Regions from separate parts of the Homo sapiens genome. Here all the other regions are linked to region 1. The links are contacts of gene promoters, found by promoter capture Hi-C in human tissues and cell types (Jung and others, 2019). All regions are on one chromosome and are shown on one strand. Each heading gives the region's core, a stretch centred on a gene start or on the middle of the fragment in contact. The rest is flanking DNA. Distances are from core to core; before and after follow the strand shown. Region 1 holds the start of SLA2 (Src like adaptor 2). Region 2 overlaps TLDC2 (TBC/LysM-associated domain containing 2). Region 3 overlaps DLGAP4 (DLG associated protein 4). Region 4 overlaps MTCL2 (microtubule crosslinking factor 2).

What was found. The method cuts DNA at HindIII sites, captures the fragments that hold promoters and counts their contacts. A contact is called where the count stands out against the background at its distance.
Region 2: a fragment that was not itself captured here is called in contact with the fragment with the promoter of SLA2 in region 1 in 3 of the 25 tissues and cell types used here (IMR-90 fibroblasts, lymphoblastoid cells and spleen).
Region 3: a fragment that was not itself captured here is called in contact with the fragment with the promoter of SLA2 in region 1 in 1 of the 25 tissues and cell types used here (spleen).
Region 4: a fragment that was not itself captured here is called in contact with the fragment with the promoter of SLA2 in region 1 in 1 of the 25 tissues and cell types used here (spleen).

What each region holds. Positions count from the first base shown.
Region 1 is chr20:36,644,424-36,648,711 of GRCh38, forward strand. SLA2 (Src like adaptor 2) reads right to left here and starts at 1,773. Exons shown (of 8, transcript NM_032214.4): 1 at 1,414-1,773. The HindIII fragment of the contact is 4,817 bases long and covers 1-3,215 here.
Region 2 is chr20:36,885,409-36,889,717 of GRCh38, forward strand. TLDC2 (TBC/LysM-associated domain containing 2) reads left to right here. Exons shown (of 7, transcript NM_080628.3): 5 at 2,047-2,120; 6 at 3,843-3,995. The coding sequence ends at 3,978. Among named protein-coding and RNA genes, the nearest start is that of TLDC2, 11 kb to the left of the region's middle. RefSeq lists an enhancer at 1,780-2,502. The HindIII fragment of the contact is 8,903 bases long and covers 1-4,309 here.
Region 3 is chr20:36,479,210-36,483,621 of GRCh38, forward strand. The region is part of intron 7 of DLGAP4 (DLG associated protein 4); the gene reads left to right. Among named protein-coding and RNA genes, the nearest start is that of MYL9, 60 kb to the right of the region's middle. The HindIII fragment of the contact is 6,952 bases long and covers 1-4,412 here.
Region 4 is chr20:36,806,545-36,810,853 of GRCh38, forward strand. It overlaps MTCL2 (microtubule crosslinking factor 2), which reads right to left. Exons shown (of 15, transcript NM_080627.4): 7 at 3,438-3,563; 8 at 1,969-2,199. Among named protein-coding and RNA genes, the nearest start is that of DSN1, 35 kb to the left of the region's middle. The HindIII fragment of the contact is 7,987 bases long and covers 1-4,309 here.

The DNA of each region.
Region 1 (4,288 bases), core at 523-3,022:
GGCACAGAGTGGGTGCTCAGTAAGGCTTAGTTTCCTTTCCCCTCCTTCAGGAAGACCACAGTTACCACCTGCAATAAACTGAGAGACTCCTTCCTGCCGCAGGTGGAGCTGGGGGCTGGGCCCAAAGGCAGATGGAGACAGGGGAGCTGTACTCAGGCTGAAAGCCTCCCCAAAGTCTCTGCAGCTCCCTTCACCTGGTCAAGGACTTGGTCAGGTCAAGGCCAATAAGCCCCTGGGGGCAAAATAAAGACCATACAATGGGCCAGCCTAGGAGGAGGCAGAGTATTAGCCGCACATTTTGTAAGACAGCATCAAATCATTAACTCTACAAATTTTTGAAAAACTTACTATGTGCCAGGCACTTTCCGGAGGACATGAGGCATCGGGTGAAAGGAAAAAGTTAGTCAACGGCAGCCGAGATGAGCACGCTGCCCAGAATATTGTGTTTTTTTTTTTTTTTTTTTTTTCAGTATCTCACTTGGGTCCCATTTCAGATACAGTGACCAAGTCCCTGAGAGGACAACCATGTGATTCTGTTCATGTAGCCCATTCGTGCAGGACTGGGCCTGCCATCATGTGTATTTTGTGCTTCTGAAGATCATTTTTCAGCAGTGGGGGTAAGAGTGATGAATTTGGCCAGGCACAGTGGCTCATGCCTGTAATCCCAGCAATTTAGGAGGCTGAGACAGGAGGATTGCTTGAGGCCAGGAGTTCGAGACCAGCCTGGGCAACATAGTGAGAACCCCCACCCCCACCCCCACCACCGCCTGCCATCTCTACAAAAATATAACGAATTAGCTGGGCATGGTGGTACATGCCTGTAGTCTCAGCTACTTGGGAGGCTAAGGCAGGAGGATCACTTGAGCCCAGTGGTTCAAGTCTATAGTTAGTCATAATTACGCCGCTGCACTCCAGCCTGGGTAACAGAATGAGACCCCAACTCAAAAAAAAAAATGAATTTGGATTGAGTTAAAGGGAGACCTCTCCCTCTCTTCCAATTGAGAAATATCACCCCTTTGAGAGTGAGAGTGCACTGTAGGCTCTACAGCTGAAATGTCTTGAGAGATGGTAGCCCTCACGTTCCTGACTTTGGAGTCTGACTGCAGCGCAGAGAGGGGCCCAAAGTCACACAGCAAGTGCGCACCTGAGATGGGACTAGGACGGGCGTGAAGACAAGCTGCACGGAAGAGCGTAAGCTCCAAGAGGAGGTCAAAGGTGGAGCAGGTGAGTCTTGGTTCTTCTGGGACCCCCAGAAACCACCCCTCTTTACAGCCTCAGTAGAACCACTCCCCCTTCTCCTTGAGCTTGTTTTTTTCCCAACAGCAAATAAAGCCCAGTCCCAGTCGGGGCAGGGGAGACCATTCTTCCTCACCTGTCTCCAGGCCATCCAAGAACAAAAGCAAGCATACTTACTGGTTTGTCATCAAAGGCTTGGGAAGACAGCTCTGCTGAGACGCATGCTCTGGCTGGACAGGTTAGGGCTTTGGGGGCCCTTCTGGAAGTCTGCCAGTGTCCTTGGTCCTAGGACACCCAGAACTCTCTCAGCCTGGGAGGATCTTCAGGGAGAGGCTAGGTGTTGGTTTGGGTAGCTCAGCATCTGTCTGCAGTCAGCAGTTTGTACACCAGGGATGGATCAGCTGCCCCATGCTCCTTAGGGATTCTGGACTGGGGAACCCTCCCAAGCACAGCCGAGCCAGGGAGGGAAGGCCCAGGGCCCTTTGAGCTCTGTCACAGAGACACAGGCGTGGGGTCCTTGGAGCTCTAGCTCCGACTGCAGACTCTGTGGTTCTCACAACCACCCGTTTCCTCTGACGGCATCACAGACCGTCGAGGAGCCACCTTCCCCAAGTTCCTGTTTCTAGGGGAGCAGCTGCTGCCTTGTCATGATCGTGGAGCAAAAGGTTTTTCTCTGGCTTTGTGGCTTAGTCTTGTCCAAGGAACACAGGACTGAGGAAAATGAGCCGGAGTTCCCATGCTGGCCTGACCATAATAATCACTCAGCGGGACTTAATTGTAGCAATTTCTGGGATCTCCCAAACTTTCTAAATCCAAGTCTCCAGATAGGGAGCCCAGGAATCTAAATTTTAAACCCTGCAGGAGATTCCCTTGACTGACGAGTGTGGGAAGCACTGCCTTCTCAGCCTTTAATGTGTATAGGAATCACCTGGGGATCTTGTTGCACTGCAGGCTCTGATTCAGAAGGTCTGGGGCAGAGTTCAGTATTTTGCATTTCTAATACGCTCCCAGGTGACCCCCATGTTGCCAGTCTGGGGACCACACTTTGAATAGCAGCAGTATCTGGACAGTGGTCTCCAAGTATGGTCCCTAGACCAGCAGCCTCAGCGGGAATTTGTTAGACATGCAAATTCTCAGGCCGCATCCCAGATCTATGGAATCATACTCTGGAGGTAGGCCCAGCAATCTGTTTTCATGCCTCCAGGTGATTCCGATGCATGCCCAGGCTTGATTTTTTTTTTTTTTTTTTTTTTTTTTTTTTTACAGGGTCTTGCTTTGTCACCCAGGATAGAGTGCAGTGGCACAATCATAGCTTAGTGCAGCCTTGACCCAGGCTCAAGTAATCCTCCCTTCTCAGCCTTGAGTAGCTAGGACTACAGGTGTGCACCAGCACTCCTGGCTAATTTTAAATTTTTTTTGTACAGATGAGGTTTCACTGTGCTGCTCCATCTAATCTCAAACTCCTGGCCTCAATTGTTCCTCCCACTTCCACCTCCCTAAGTGTTGGGATTACAAGCATGAGCCACAGTCCATGCCCAAGCTTGAGAATCACTGGTCTAGGATAAAGAATCTGACTCTGGCTGAATTGTCTTTGATCAGTGTGTTACCTTCAGTCCCACTCTTCATTAAGATTTAACCACACCCTCTCGCTGCTTCCCCATTAGGGGGATTAGTACTCTTGGAGACAAAGGGCCCACTGCACTGAAATGATTCCTGACTCCAGCTCAGCCCATGCAGCCCTTTCTGGGGCCTTGCCAGCTACAGCACTCCTGCTCAGGTTCTCCTTTGATCCTAGGGAAGGCTGGTTTGATTTTTATCCTTGTAGGCACTTGGCACACAGAGCTGAAGGAGCCAGAGTGGAGGCACACTTCTGCAAGAGAGTTCTAATCAGGACGTTAGAATGGGTGACAGCCACTCAGGGATGTGGGCCTTGGCAGGGAGGGACTTGAGCTTGAGCCCACCTTCCCACTCCTGCTGCCATACAACTGTAATGCCCGTCTTCTTATGATACGCACATCTTCAAAACAAGCCTCAAGGTGCAGTTCATGAATGGGGCAGGAAGTAGGGAATCTCTGGTCTCTTCTTAAAAGAATCCCACGGCATAACTCTCCTTTTCTACTTAGGGAGGCACCTAAGAATTACAAAATTTAAAATCCTAGGTCTATCCACTAAGAAATATGCACTGGTGTTCCTCCCTGGCTCCTGGCCAGAGCTGCTAAAACCCTTCTAATTTCCTCGGTGACAGAAGTGTTTTCTGTTCTAATGAGGCAACACTTGGTGGGCTCCTGGATGGGGACTGGTCACTAGAAAGACAAAGCCATCATTATGAGCTTGGGGCTTTCAGTCCCACCTCATCCTCTGGAGTGGGGAGAGGAGCTCGAGATTGAGTTAATAATTGATAATGCTTATGTGATGAAGCTTCCATAAAAATCCCTAAAGTACGAGGTTCAGAGAGTTTCCAGGTTGGTGAACACATCCAACACACCAGAAGGGTGGCACACCCCAACTCCCTGGGACCCCTCCAGACCTTGCTCTATGTATTATTATTATTATTTTTAGACAGATTCTTGCTCTGTTGTCCAGACTGGAGTGGAGTGGCACAATTTAGGCTCACCGCATCCTCTGCCTCCCGGGTTCAAGCAATCCTCTTGCCCCAGCCTCCTGAGTAGCTGGGATTACAGGTGTGCACCACCACGCCCAGCTAATTTTTGTATTTTTAGTAGAGACGGGGTTTCATCATGTTAGCCAGGCTGGTCTCGAACTCCTGACCTCAGGTGATCCACCCGCCTTGGCTTCCCAAAGTGCTGGGATTACAGGCTTGAGCCACTGTGTCCAGCCTCCTACATACTTCTTTATCTGGCCATTTACCTGTATCCTTTATCGTATCCTTTTTTTTTTTTTTTGAGACAGAGTCTTGCTCTGTCACCCAGGCTGGAGTGCAGTGGCGCAATCTCGGCTCACTGCAAGCTCCGCCTCCCGGGTTCATACCATTCTCCTGTCTCAGCCTCCTGAGTAGCTGGGACTACAGGCACCCACCACCACACCCAGCTAA
Region 2 (4,309 bases), core at 1,695-4,194, 240 kb after region 1:
GGCTATCTCTGGCCTTCTGGCACTTGTATTCCTCATGAATTCGGTAGTTCGTTGATTGCTATTCCAAACGGCACCATGAACTTGGTCTCAATTCCTTCCACAGCAACGTGTATCTTACTCCTTCAGGTCAAAGGTCATGTCCTTCGAGAAAGTAGAGGAGGACTTGAATGATTCTGTCCCCTTGTGGTCACTTGTTAATATGATCTCATCTCTCCTGAGCATAGGACGTATCTTTTATTAGTCTGTTTTCCGGCTAAAAACCCTTTGGTTGCTCACAGCATTTTGGGCCACTGATTAAGGCAATAACATCCTATCGTTTTGCAGCCCTTTAAAACTATTTTGACTCTTGAATAATTTTTGCATTCAATAAATATATATGTTCCAGGAATACAGCCAGGAAGAAGACAGGCCACACGGAACTTAACGTCCTTAATATAAATAAATAAAGAGGAATGAAACAGGGTCTGGGAGGAAGGGCTACTTCAGATAGGGTGGTCCAGGAAATTTCTGAGATGATATTTGGGCTGAAGGATGAGAGGTGGGCCCTCTGAGGATCTAGGGGAAGAGCATTCTGGGCAGAGGGATTCTAGGTCAGGAATGGGCTTTGGGTGTTCCAGGGATGGAAAGACTGGTGTGGCTAATGTGTAGTCAATAAGGGGGAGAAGGGGCCAGAGAGAAAATCAGGGGTTAGAGCTGGCTGCACTTTTTAAGTTTTGACAGTTTTTTTGTTGTTTTTTAGAGTTGGGGTCTTGCGCTGTTATCCACGCTAGAGTGCAGTGGTGCGATCATAGCTCACTGCAGCCTCCACTCCTGGGCTCAAGTGATCCTTCCACCTTAGCCTCCCCAGTAGCTGGGACTATAGGTGCACACCACTGTGACCAGCTAGGTTTAAAAATTTGTTTTAGGGCCGGGCGCAGTGGCTCGAGCCTGTAATCCCAGCTCTTTGGGAGGCCAAGGCAGGCGGATCACGAGGTCAATAGATTGAGACCAGCCTGGGCAACATGGTGAAACCTGTTTCTACTAAAATACAAAAAGTTAGCCGGGCGTGGTGGTGCGTGCCTGTAGTCCCAGCCACTCAGGAGGCTGAGGCAGGGGAATCGTTTGAACTCAGGAGGCGGAGGTTGCAGTGAGCCAAGATTGCGCCACTGCACTCCAGCCTGGCAAAAGAGCGAGACTCTGTCTCAAAAGAGAGAGAAAAAAAATTTTTTTTAGAGATAGGGGAGGGTCTTACTATGTTGCCTTGGTTGGTCTAGAACTCCTGACCTCGAGGAAACTCCTGGCCTCAAGTGATCCTCCCGCCTCAGCCTACTGAGTAGCTGGGATTACAAGTGCACACCATCACACCTAGCTAGTTAAAAAATTGCTGGGATTACAGGCATGAGCCACTGCGCCAGTCCCAGGCTGCACTTCTGGCCATTGTTAAGGAGTTGAATTTTATCCCCATTGCAATGGGAAGCCATTGGAGGACTTAGGCAGAGGAGAGATAACATCTGATTTGGACGTAGAACAGATCACGCAGATTGCAGTGTGGGTATGGCTGTAGGTACAGACAGTGGATGCAGAGGGACCAGCTGGGAGGCTGTGATCCAGGCAGAGGACGGGATAGAAATGGCGGCAGGCCCGCTGTGTCTAGAGCTGCGAGGCTTGTTGATGAGCTGGATGTGAGGCAGCACTGAAGAGCAGGCGGGCTGGTGTTGTCCGGGTGAGAGTTAGTTAGAAGGGCAGTATCAGTTCCCACTCCTGGCCTGGACTGCTCCCCTCCTCCCTCCAGCTTTGGAAGCAGGAAGCCTCAGGGGTCGTTGTCCTATTCTAGAACAAAGAGGCTTCTAGGCTGTAGGAATTCAAACTAGAGGGCATGCGGTGGTGACTCCAAGGAGACTGAGAAGATAAACCCCAAGATCCCTGAGCCCGGAGTCCCACCTGCGGCTCGGTTGGGGCCTGGATGCTGTTCCCGCCACAACACTGCCATCCAGTGGTTCGGGGTCAAACTGCAAGGGCGGGACTCGCTCGCTTAGTAACCTGAGCCTTTCCCTATGTATCACCCAGGTCTTTAAGTGGACTGGAAGCAACTCTTTCTTTGTGAAGGGAGACTTGGATTCACTGATGATGGGCAGTGGCAGGTGAGTGTCTCAGTCTTCCCGAGTCTTGGGGCGGTCTGTGTTCTGGTCCCTTTCCCTCTGCCGAACTGCTGGGCTAGGCTGCCCTTGATGCAATGGCGAGGCTAGTGGGGAACTCTCAGGCCGTTCCCCTCATTGCTCAGCCTCCCAGCCAACCCCCTCAACCTCACGCTAAGCCAGTATTAAGGAGAAAGGATGCATGAGTGCCCCCACTGAAGTGTTACAGCTGGTGACAGTTTAGTCTGAATGTATGCAACTTTGGGAAAAGAATTCCACATGGTTGGATGAGACTAGCGTCAAGAGATGAGTGTGCCTCGTTTTTCCACCAGCCCAGGAATTGCAGGGGACATAACTCATTGCAGGAACCTCCCTCGGTGAGGACGGGGTAGAGAGAGGTAGGAAAAAAAAGTTGATCTCATCCTGGTGTGACCTTCACATTCAGGGGGCATGCGTCTTATCCTGAGGGCGGGGATGAGAGCATTGCTTGATTAGTACCAGGCAAATTCTTTGCTCTCCCAACTGCCTGAAAAGCCTCCACTGAGGGGCAGCTTGGCACAGAACACATCAGCCATTGCTGATCTGCAGGAATTCACTTCCTGGTTTCAGCCGAGGTTTTCTGTCAAATAAGGGGATTAGAATGGACGCTCTGAAGCATTTGGGCTCTCAGAGTTTGCACCCTGAGATGTACTAGCTTTGGTTAAAGAATTGCCATTTTGTTTTTTTTGAGACAGAGTCTCGCTCTGTCGCCCAGGCTGGAGTGCAGTGGTGTGATCTCAGCTCACCACACCCTCCGACTCCTGGGTTCAAGTGATTCTCCTGCCTCAGCGTCTCGAGTAGCTGGGACAACAGTTGCCCACCACCACGTCCGGCTAATTTTTGTATTAAGAATTGCTATCTTGGACCGAGCGTGGTGGCTTGTGCCTGTAATCCCAGCACTTTGGGAGGCCGAGGTGGGCGGATCACGAGGTCAGGAGATCGAGACCGTCCTGGCTAACATGGTGAAACCCCATCTCTACTAAAAATACAAAAAATCAGCCAGGCGTGGTGGTGGGCACCCGTAGTCCCAGCTACTCGGGAGGCTGAGGCAGGAGAATGGTGTGAACCCGGGAGGTGGAGCTTGCAGTGAGCCAAGATCGCGCCATTGCACTCCAGGCTGGGCGACAGAGCAAGACTCCTATCAAAAAAAAAAAAAAAAAAAAAAAATTGCCATCTTGACCAGGCGCAGTGGCTCACACCTGTAATCCCAGCACTTTGGGAGGCCAAGGCAGGCAGATCGCTTGAGGTCAGGAGTTCAAGACCAGCCTGGCCAACATAGCAAAACCCCATCTCTACTAAACATACAAAAATTAGCCAGGCATAGTGGTGGGCGGCCTGTAATACCAGCTACTAGGGAGGCTGAGGTAGGAAAATTGCTTGAACCCGGGAGGTGGAGGTTGTGGTGAGCCAGGGTCGTGCCACTGCACTCCAGCCTGGGTGACAAAGCAAGACTCCGTTTCAATAAATAAATAAATAAATAAATAAACAAATAAATAAATAAAGCTCTTAACCCCATGGGGAACAATGTGCTGAGTCCCCAATAATTCAGTATAAATTGCTTTAAGGGGCGATAAGACAGGTGAAACTGGGCTGCCGTCCTGGCATGGCCAAGAGCTGATGCTGGTGGCAGAGCCTGGGGGTTTCAGCACACAGGAGTGAGCCGCACCAAGACTGTCCTCTTCTCTCTAGTGGCCGGTTTGGGCTGTGGTTGGATGGAGACTTGTTCCGCGGGGGAAGCTCCCCTTGCCCGACCTTCAACAACGAGGTGCTGGCCCGGCAGGAGCAGTTCTGCATCCAGGAGCTGGAGGCTTGGCTTCTCAGCTGACAGCCCTGCGGCAACAGGTACTCAGCCCTGCTCATGATGCCACCCAGGCCTTCCTGACACACAGCAGCCTGTGCTGTTTGAAACACAGATGGTGAAGGGCCCTAGAGTTGGCCGAGGCTGCTGGCCAGCCTCCTTGTGGCCTGGGGACCCAAGATACAGGTGGGGGCAGGCACTGCTCTTTTGCAGAGGTGACTTTGAAGGATTAAAAGACGCTTACACCTTACTCAAGCAGCACAGAGACCCTAAGCTAACAGGGTCTTAGAAAACTCAGAAAAATCCACATCTCTTCCCCGCTAGTGCCTGCCTCCTGGCAAAGGGAAGATTTTTCACT
Region 3 (4,412 bases), core at 1,056-3,555, 160 kb before region 1:
AGCATCACTGTCATCTGCTTGCCAAGTTGTCTCTTACTCTTCTCTACTTAGAGTCTTCAAAGTCTTCTAGGATGAGGGCTCTGCCAGCCTGTGTCATTTTTAGGGTGAAATGAGAGGGTGGGGTTCTGCCTCCTAAGTGTCAACAGGCATTCACCTGGGTACCTCTTTTGAGCCAGGATTGGAGGTCACAGGGATGCCACCCTGCCTTCAGGAGGCTCAGGGTCTAAAGGAGGAAGCAGAAAAGTAAAGAGGTTTGTAAAAATAGTGTGGTGGGCAAGGGCCTGTGGTGTGCCTGAATGTGGGATGTTGTTCAGTGAGTGAGCCAGGGCAGGGGCCTGGGAAGACTGTTAGGGAAGGCTTTTTGGCAGGAGTGATGCTGGAACTGATACCTAAAGGAGGAGGCAGAATCAGTGAGGAAGAGGGTGTTCAGGCAGCACAGAGGCCTGGAAGCTGAGCATGGTGTGTTGGCATGAAGGGGGTGATGGAGAGTTAGAGGGGTGATTGACAAGGCAGAGAGGCCAGTGGTCCCTACACTAAAATGTTAGAATGGTGCTGCTACAGTGCGGTGTCGAGGGGCTGGATGGTTGGGGGTGCTGGGCAGGGCAATGAATCTTCCCGAACTTAGTCCTTGGACAGGATGAGACCCCTCATTTCTGCCCCAGGCCAGAAATCCTCAGCTTCTGGCATGCAGAGTCCATGGAGGGCCTGGGATTGGGCAGCAGCTCCGTGGGCCCTTTGCTCAGGAGATGTTTAGGCTCCTCAGGCAATTGTAATGACAGTTCCTCACCTGCCAAGCCCTTTCCCACCTGTCTTGGGAAACTCACAGCAGTCCTAGGGCAATAGACAGGGCAAGCCGCATTATTCTCATTTTATAGATGGGAGAAATTCAGACCCAGGAGCTTAAGTCATACACTGAATGAAGGCTGATTCCAGGGATTCCTAACCTACTGGCAGTTTCTGTCATAGCAGGTATTTTGAAGGGGGCAGGGTAGCAAGTATCAGCTGATCTCCTATTCTGAGGATGGATTTATCATCTCAGATGGGAGCTCTTATGCAGCTAGACTTCCCAGACGAAGGTGTTTTACTTCCAGACTTTGCTGTCTGAAGCCCTGGTGTTAGTCCTCACAAGATTTCCCGTGTGGCTAGGCTGTGTGAACATTCTCATTTTGTATTTCGCTGTTTGTTGATAACAATTCTCCGGAGGTAGGGGGGTAAAAAAGACCAGTGGCTCACGCCTGTAATCCCAGCACTTGGAAGACCAGGGTGAGATGATGGCTTGAGCCCAGGAGTTTGAGATCAGTCTGGGCAACATAGTGAGACCCTGTCTCTACAAAAAATTAAAATTAAAAAAATTAGTCAGGAGCAGTGGTACATGTCTGTAGTCCTAGCTACTCGGGAGGCTGACGTGGGAGGATCACTTGAGCCCAGGAAGTTGAAGCTACAGTGAACTATGATCACACCCTGTACTCCAGCCTAGGTGACAGAGTGAAACCCTGTCTCTAAACAAAAAGTTGGCTGGGCACGGTAACTCAACGCCTGTAATCCCAGCACTTCAGGAGGCCTAGGTGGAAAAATTGCTTAAGCCCAGGAGTTCTAGTACAGCATGGGCAACATAGTGAGACCTCATCTCTACAAAAACTAAAAAAATTAGCCAGGCATGGTGGTGCACCCCTGTGGTTCCAGTTACTTGGGAGGCTGAGGTGAGAGGATTGCTTGAGCCCGGGCTATCAAGGCTGCAGTGAGCTGTGATCATACCACTGCACTCCAGCCTGGATGACAGTGAGACTGTCTCAAAAAAAAAATGTTGAACTATGAATGTCATGCACACAAAGATGATGTGTGGTATCACGTCCAGAACTGGATGTAAAGTAGAAGGGCAAAGAGCGTCTCAGGCCCGGTAGGAATCTTAAAAGTCACACCCATGGGGACTTCAGTTTCCTCCCTGGCATCCATCCTGCCTGTGTCTAGCCTGGCTGGCCATTTTCTAGGTCCTTCTTCCATCTTTGGCCAGCTCTGCTTCTTAGAAAGCTCCTCTTTATAATTAGTCAAAATTTACTTCCATTAACAATCCCCACCTTCCTTTTCCCCTCTGATTGTAGTGTGACCCTCTGGGGCTACATGTGTATTTGACAGTCTTTTAGGTATTTGAGGACAGTAGCCATGCCCTTTTAAATTGTCTCTCTTCTCCAGGGTGACCATCCTAGCCTCTCCAAGCCATCCCTCACTTTACGCTAAGCACAACTTTTGGTGCATATGTGTCACACGCCCCGTTTGTGACAAGTCCGTCCCAGACACACTAATCACTTGTTGAATCAGTCCTGGGCTTTCTCATGCAACTCCATATGGCTGCCACAGTGCCCAGTCAGTGGAGGAGGCTTTTCATTGTCATCTCCACATTTCTATGGGTTTCTTGAGGACAAGGACTACTCATTCTGGGTCCCTAGTGGCTGGCACTGTGCATGGCTTTCCCTCTGTAAATAAGCATTTGCTGGAATGGGGTGGAGTTGAGACTTCTCCCTGTGTGGATCACCTTCTGTCTTCAGGTTCCAGTTTGACGATATCCCTTGCCTGGAATTACCTATGATACCCTCAGTATTATCCAGAGTTCAGTGGGGACTGCGCCCTCTCTGGTCCTGTGACTTTCCTGTAACAGTGCATCCTCAGTGTCTGTGGTCAGCTGACGTCACTAAGCCATTTTTCCACATATGCCGCTTTTCTTGTGTAATTGTCTTACTTGGGTTCCCAAACTCAGGGTCTTAATATAAGCTCTGAGGGAAAAAAAATCCCTCTGTTTTTCTGTGTCTCTGTCCCCCGGGTGTGCCTGGCACAGAGACAGGCAGCATTACCTCTGCTGACCTGAAGTGAACTCACGGTTTTCCCCATTCAGTCCTGCACTATTCGTCTCATCCCAACTCTAGGCTGCCGAGGGATCTTGGCTCCTACTCCTGTCACCTGATATGCCACCTGCCACTCCAGGCCCAGTGAATGAGCTTGTTAACACTGCCTTTCTATTCTGGGATTCGCTTGGTCATTCAGAATGGTGAAAGAGGCCAGCAATCGAGGTGCACAGGGCCTGGCAGCGTCTGGCTTTGCACACTGGACACACAGCCTATGACAGTTGGTGAAAGCCGGGCTTTTGTGACCTATCGCCAGGGTTTGAAGTCAGCCCTCCATTGACATCAGCCCTCCAGAAGTGAGGGTAGTTTTTTTGAGGCTCTTTCCAAGTAATACTTCCCAGGCTGGGCTCTGGGATCTTAGGGCTTTGGAAAGGTAGCAGCAAAGCTCGTATGATACAGCCAGTATTTGAAAAGCCACATTTTGCATTCTCTACCCTCAGTCCTTCACCAGACCAAGCGGGCTGCACATGTCAAGTTTTTGCACTGGGCTGGAGCCGAGGCAGCTTTGTAACTGGGCGGTTTCTCCTGCTTACTAGCACCTGCTTCTCGTGGGTTGTTTTTTTGTTTTTGTTTTTGTTTTTTTGAGACAGGGTCTAACTCTGTTGTCCAGGCTGGAGTGCAGTGGCATGATCTTGGTTCACTACAACCTCTGTCTCCCGGGTTCAAGTGATCCCCACACCTCAGCCTCCTGAGTAGCTGGGATTACTGGCATGAGATACCATGCCCGGCTAATTTTTGTATTTTTAGTAGAGACAGGGTTTCACCATGTTGGCCAGGCTGGTCTCAAACTCCTGACCTCAAGTGATCCCCCTGCCTCAGCCTCCCAAATCGCTGAGATTACAGGCATGAGCCACCATGCCCGGCCAAATGGTTATAGCTTTGATAAACAACAAGATCGTGATTTAGTAACAGTAGCTTGGGCGCTACCATCTCTTTAAAGCTTGGATTCCTAGGGATGATGGTAATAAGGTGTCCAGGGTGGGCTGGGGCAGGGACCACTGAGCAGAGCTCTTGGCAGAGCAGACTCTGCAGGTGGGTCTCTGAGGATAAATAAAATGATGTTTGTGGCAGATTCCAATACATAATGGGTGAGGAGTGGATGGTTCCTGACAGGCTGCTTACTGGATATGGCTGCAGTGGTAGTAGAAATGGTTTTTCAGAAACTACATGCTATTTGGACATACTATTTGGAGGTCAGTGGTCAGGGGCTAGAGGAGGCAGAGCTCAGCTACGGGAGGATGCCTCCCTGAATGCCCGGAACTGGTGTTCTCCAGGCTGGGGGGAAACCAGGAACATTCCCACACTCATAGCCCCAGGCAAGGGTCCCTGCTCTGCTGCCAGATCCTCAGCTCATGCATTTGCCTTCCTGGTCCTTTTTTATGTGTACTATGAGAGAGTGAATTAGTCTGGTAGGTCTCAGAATAACATGTGGGAATTCTGTACAGAGAAAAAAGGGGAAATGGGGCTGTTCTGAGGGACCTGGGGTGGGGTGAGAGTCCAAAGAGCCTTCCTCAG
Region 4 (4,309 bases), core at 143-2,642, 160 kb after region 1:
AGTCTCACTGTGTCATCCAGGCTAGAGTGCAATGGCATGCTCTTAGCTCACTGCAACCTCTGCCTTGCAGGTTCAAGAGATTCTCTTGCTTCAGGCTCCTGAGTAGCTGGGACTACCAGTGTGCACCACCGTTCCCAGCTAATTTTTGTATTTTTAGTAGAGACAGGGTTTCATCACGTTGACCAGACTGGTCTCGAACTCCTGATCTCAAGTGATCTGCCCACCTTAACCTCCCAAAGTGCTGAGATTACAGGTGTGAGCCACTGCACCTAGCCAATTTTCTATGTTTATGCCCTAATTTTTTTTCCCTAAAGTAAGTTTCTCTCTCTTTTACTCTAGGATATGGAAATGGCTAGAAAGGTTTTCACCAAATGTGGAGGGTTCGTCTGAGACAAACTGACTTAAAATATAGACTGTGTGGCCTGCAGGTCATTCCCTTAAACTGGGCTTCATCCAGAGGCCTGTGAGACTTCCAAACAGGTGAGAGGGCTCCTATGTTTCCAAACGTCACAGAAGAGACAGCTTCGGACAGGAGGACCGAGGCGAATGCTCCCAGGGGCGGCCCTGTGTCAGGCACTGCAGGGCCAGGGCAGCAGGGTGTGGGCCTATGGAATGGCGGTAGTGACTCTCCCATGAGGCCCTGGGGAGGAGCTGGTGGCCTGCGAGAATGATGAGCCCCACTGAGATAGGGTGATGCAGGGTCTTGCTACACACTCAGGTCTAACTGTCTTGCCTGGCTCCTGGGGCATCTGGGCTCCTCTGGAGTACCCCTGATGGCGTAAGTGGCAACTTGAGGCATGCCAATGCTCCCTACTGGATCTGGACAGGGGACTACAGAGAGCAGCCTGGACTAGAGGAGGGCCAAGCCTGGGCTAGACTCGAGGTACCTGAACCCAAAAGGACACGGCCAAAGTGAACAATGTCAACTAAGATGAGTGTGACCAAGGTCTGACATCCTTGTAAGTCCCCTTCTCTTCCCTGATGTGTTGATGTGTGCTGCTGTGCTGATGACAGGACGCAAGGGCTTTGAGCAGCAAAGGGTCCTGCATAGACTGGGGCATGAATGGGTCAGGTGGGTCCTTTCTAAGCTTCTTACATTCCCAGAGCTCCGCCCCCACGTTTCCTGCCACATCCTAATACCACCTGTACTATCACCAATGTTTTTAAGCCAGCCTACTCCCTCTTGTTAAGTAAACATATCTTTTGGCCAGGCATGGTGGCTCATGCCTGTAATCCCAGCACTTTGGGAGGCCAAGGCAGGTGGATTACTTGAGGTCAGGAGTTTGAGAGATCAGCCTGGCCAACATGGAGAAACCCTGTCTTTTTTTTTTTTTTTTTTTTTTTTTTTTGAGAAGGAGTCTTGCTCTCTCTCCCACTCTGGAGTGCAGTGGCACAATCTAGGCTCACTGCAAGCTCCGCCTCCTGGGTTCACGCCATTCTCCCGCCTCAGCCTCCCGAGTAGCTGGGACTACAGGCACCCGCCACCACACCTGGCTAATTTTTTGTATTTTTAGTAGAGACGGGGTTTCACCATGTTAGCCAGGATGGTCTCGATCTCCTGACCTCGTGATCCACCCGCCTCGGCCTCCCAAAGTGCTGGGATTACAGGTGTGAGCCACCGCACCCGGCCAAGAAACCCTGTCTTTACTTAAAATACAAAAATTAGCTGGGCATGGTGGCATGTGCCTGTAATCCCAGCTACTCGGGAGGCTGAGGCAGGAGAATTGCTTGAACCCGGGAGATGGAGATTGCAGCAGGCTGAGATTGCACCACTGCACTCTAGCCTGGGCTGGAGTGAGACTCCATCTCGGAAAAAAAAAAAAAAAAGCAACGAATGCAGGAAGGAAGCCTGCATGCTGATGGCAGGTATGTGAGCCTAGGAGTTGTGTCAATACCAGCTGGGCGTCCCTTCCCTGTCCCTCTCTCCCCAGCCCACACTCCCAGTCCCAGTCCCTGGCCCAATCTTACCTCGAGGAAGTCATCCCCTTCGCTGGGCAAAACCTTGCCCTGCCGCCAGCGCTTGAGGAACCACCTGAGCTTCATGAAGAGCAGCAGGAAGTTGTGCTTGAATTGCTGGGACTCCTGCACCAGCATGTTCTTCTCCTGGCTCCAGAATTTCTGCTCCAGCCTCCGCTGGAGGCTCAGACTCTGCAGCTCAAACTCCCGCCTCAGGAGCGCCCTCTGCTGGTCCTCCTTCAGCTGCCGGGGGACAAGAGCTTGAGCAACCCCAGGGCCCTGTCCTCTCCCCCACCCCTTTCTGGGCCCCTGGACAGGGGCAGGGAGGAAAGTCTGGGTGGTGCCTGTGAGTGATCCCTGCCGGGGATCCCACCACACGTGGCGCAATCTATTCAGATGAGCACTGCCCTCTGCTCCTGCAAAAACAGTGACACATCATTGAAGGAGCTGGGATTTGACCCTGGCTCTAAAAAACCATGACATCATATACTGAGCACCTCCTGGGCACCAAATGTCTCACACGAATGCTCATGTTCAATGAGGAACCTGCGAGGGTGAGCGATGATAGCAGGGAGGGGTGACGCATGGAGAGCAAAGGGCGTGCCAGGGTTGAGGACAGCTGATGACTAGGCAACACCCTAGGAAGCAATGCAGTGTCATGCCTAACAGAGGGACCTGGATTAGAGGCCCAGCCCTGCCACACTCTGGATGTGCAACCCTGGGCAGAGCACTCCAGCTCTCTGGGCATCAGTTTCCCCATCTGCAAAATGGTGATAAGGGAGGGCACAAGGATTAAAAGACATAATGGGTAGAAAGTGCATTGGACAGGCCCACCATACAGTAAGGGCTTAACAAATGTTATTCCAGAACTATTATCTTGATTAGAAGCCAGGCCTGATGAGGGCACCATTTCATAAATGGGAAACTGAGGTCCTGAGAGAAAACAGGACTGGCCCCAGGTCCCACAGGCCGCCAATGACAGCCCTGTTACACAACTAATGCACAATGGCAAGGACAATAACATCCCAGCAGGGCACAGGGGCTGAAGACTCAGGTTTCCCTTGACATTCTTTCATTCTTTTTTTTTTTTTTTTTTTTTAGATATCACTCTGTCACCCAGGCTAGAATACAGTGGGATGATCTCGGCTCACTGTAACCTCCGCCTCCTGGGTTCAAGCGGTTCTCTTGCCTCAGCCTCCTGAGTAGCTGGGATTACAGGCGTGCTAGTGCACGCCTGGCTAATTTTTGTATTTTTAGTAGAGGCGGGGTTTCCATGTTGGCCAGGCTGGTCTCAAACTCCTGGCCTCAAGTGATCTGCCTGCCTTGGCCTCCCAAAGTGCTGGGATTACAGGCGTGAGCCACCACACCCAGCCTCCCCTGACTTTCTTGACTTCAGAGGGCCCATAGATCCTCAAGGCCTCTGCTTCCAGCTCAGAGAGGCTGTAGGAATAGCTGCCTGGAAAGCGCTGGGCACCACGCACCTGGACCATTTTCTGGTTGAAATTGTCGGCCTCCTCCTTTCGTAGCTGCCGCTCCTGGGAGAGCTGCTCTTGCAAGCCCCGGAGGCTGTCGTGGGCCTCAGCCAGCACCAGCTGCAGCTCCTTGATCTGTGGTACAGACAGGGGACACAGATAATGAGGAGGGAGAGAGAGGAAGAAGTGGATAGAAATTGTGATCTAAGGATGACAGTGGTAGGGGAACGATGGGATGTTGGACCCAAGCTGTCCAAATACAAATCAGGCAGAATGACTGTCCCCACCTCTGAGGGTCGTCATGATGATTAAATGAAACAGTACATATCAAATCTGGCTTTTGTTACCATTGGAACTTGTTCTTTTCTCTCTGAAATTTATCTTAATAAGGTACTGGGAAAACTAAGTTTGATTCACAAAGATGTTCATTGTTTCATTGTTTATAATTGCAATATTTTAGAAACAACTTAGATACTAAATGATGGGACTTAAAAGATGCTTAATGGATCTATACATATGTAACAATCCATTCAGTGGTACCCTTAAGGACAGTGTCCTTTATTGTATGTATGTTATTATGTTATACTACAACAGAAAGTAGAAAAACAAAACCAAAAACGCTATAGGCCTCCATAAAAAAACATACAAAGGACATGGACACACACAATAAATGTAACCAGTGGGAACTATGTGAAGACCTTCTGACCTCCAACCTTCACCCACCCTCCCCTCCTTCTCTCTCTCCCTCTCTCTCTCTCTCTCTCTCTCTCTCTCTCTCTCTTTCAACGGAGTTTCGCCAGCTTTGAGCGTGATCTTGGCTCACTGCAACCTCTGCCTCCCAGGTTCAAGCGATTATCCTGCCTCAGCCTCTCAATTAACTG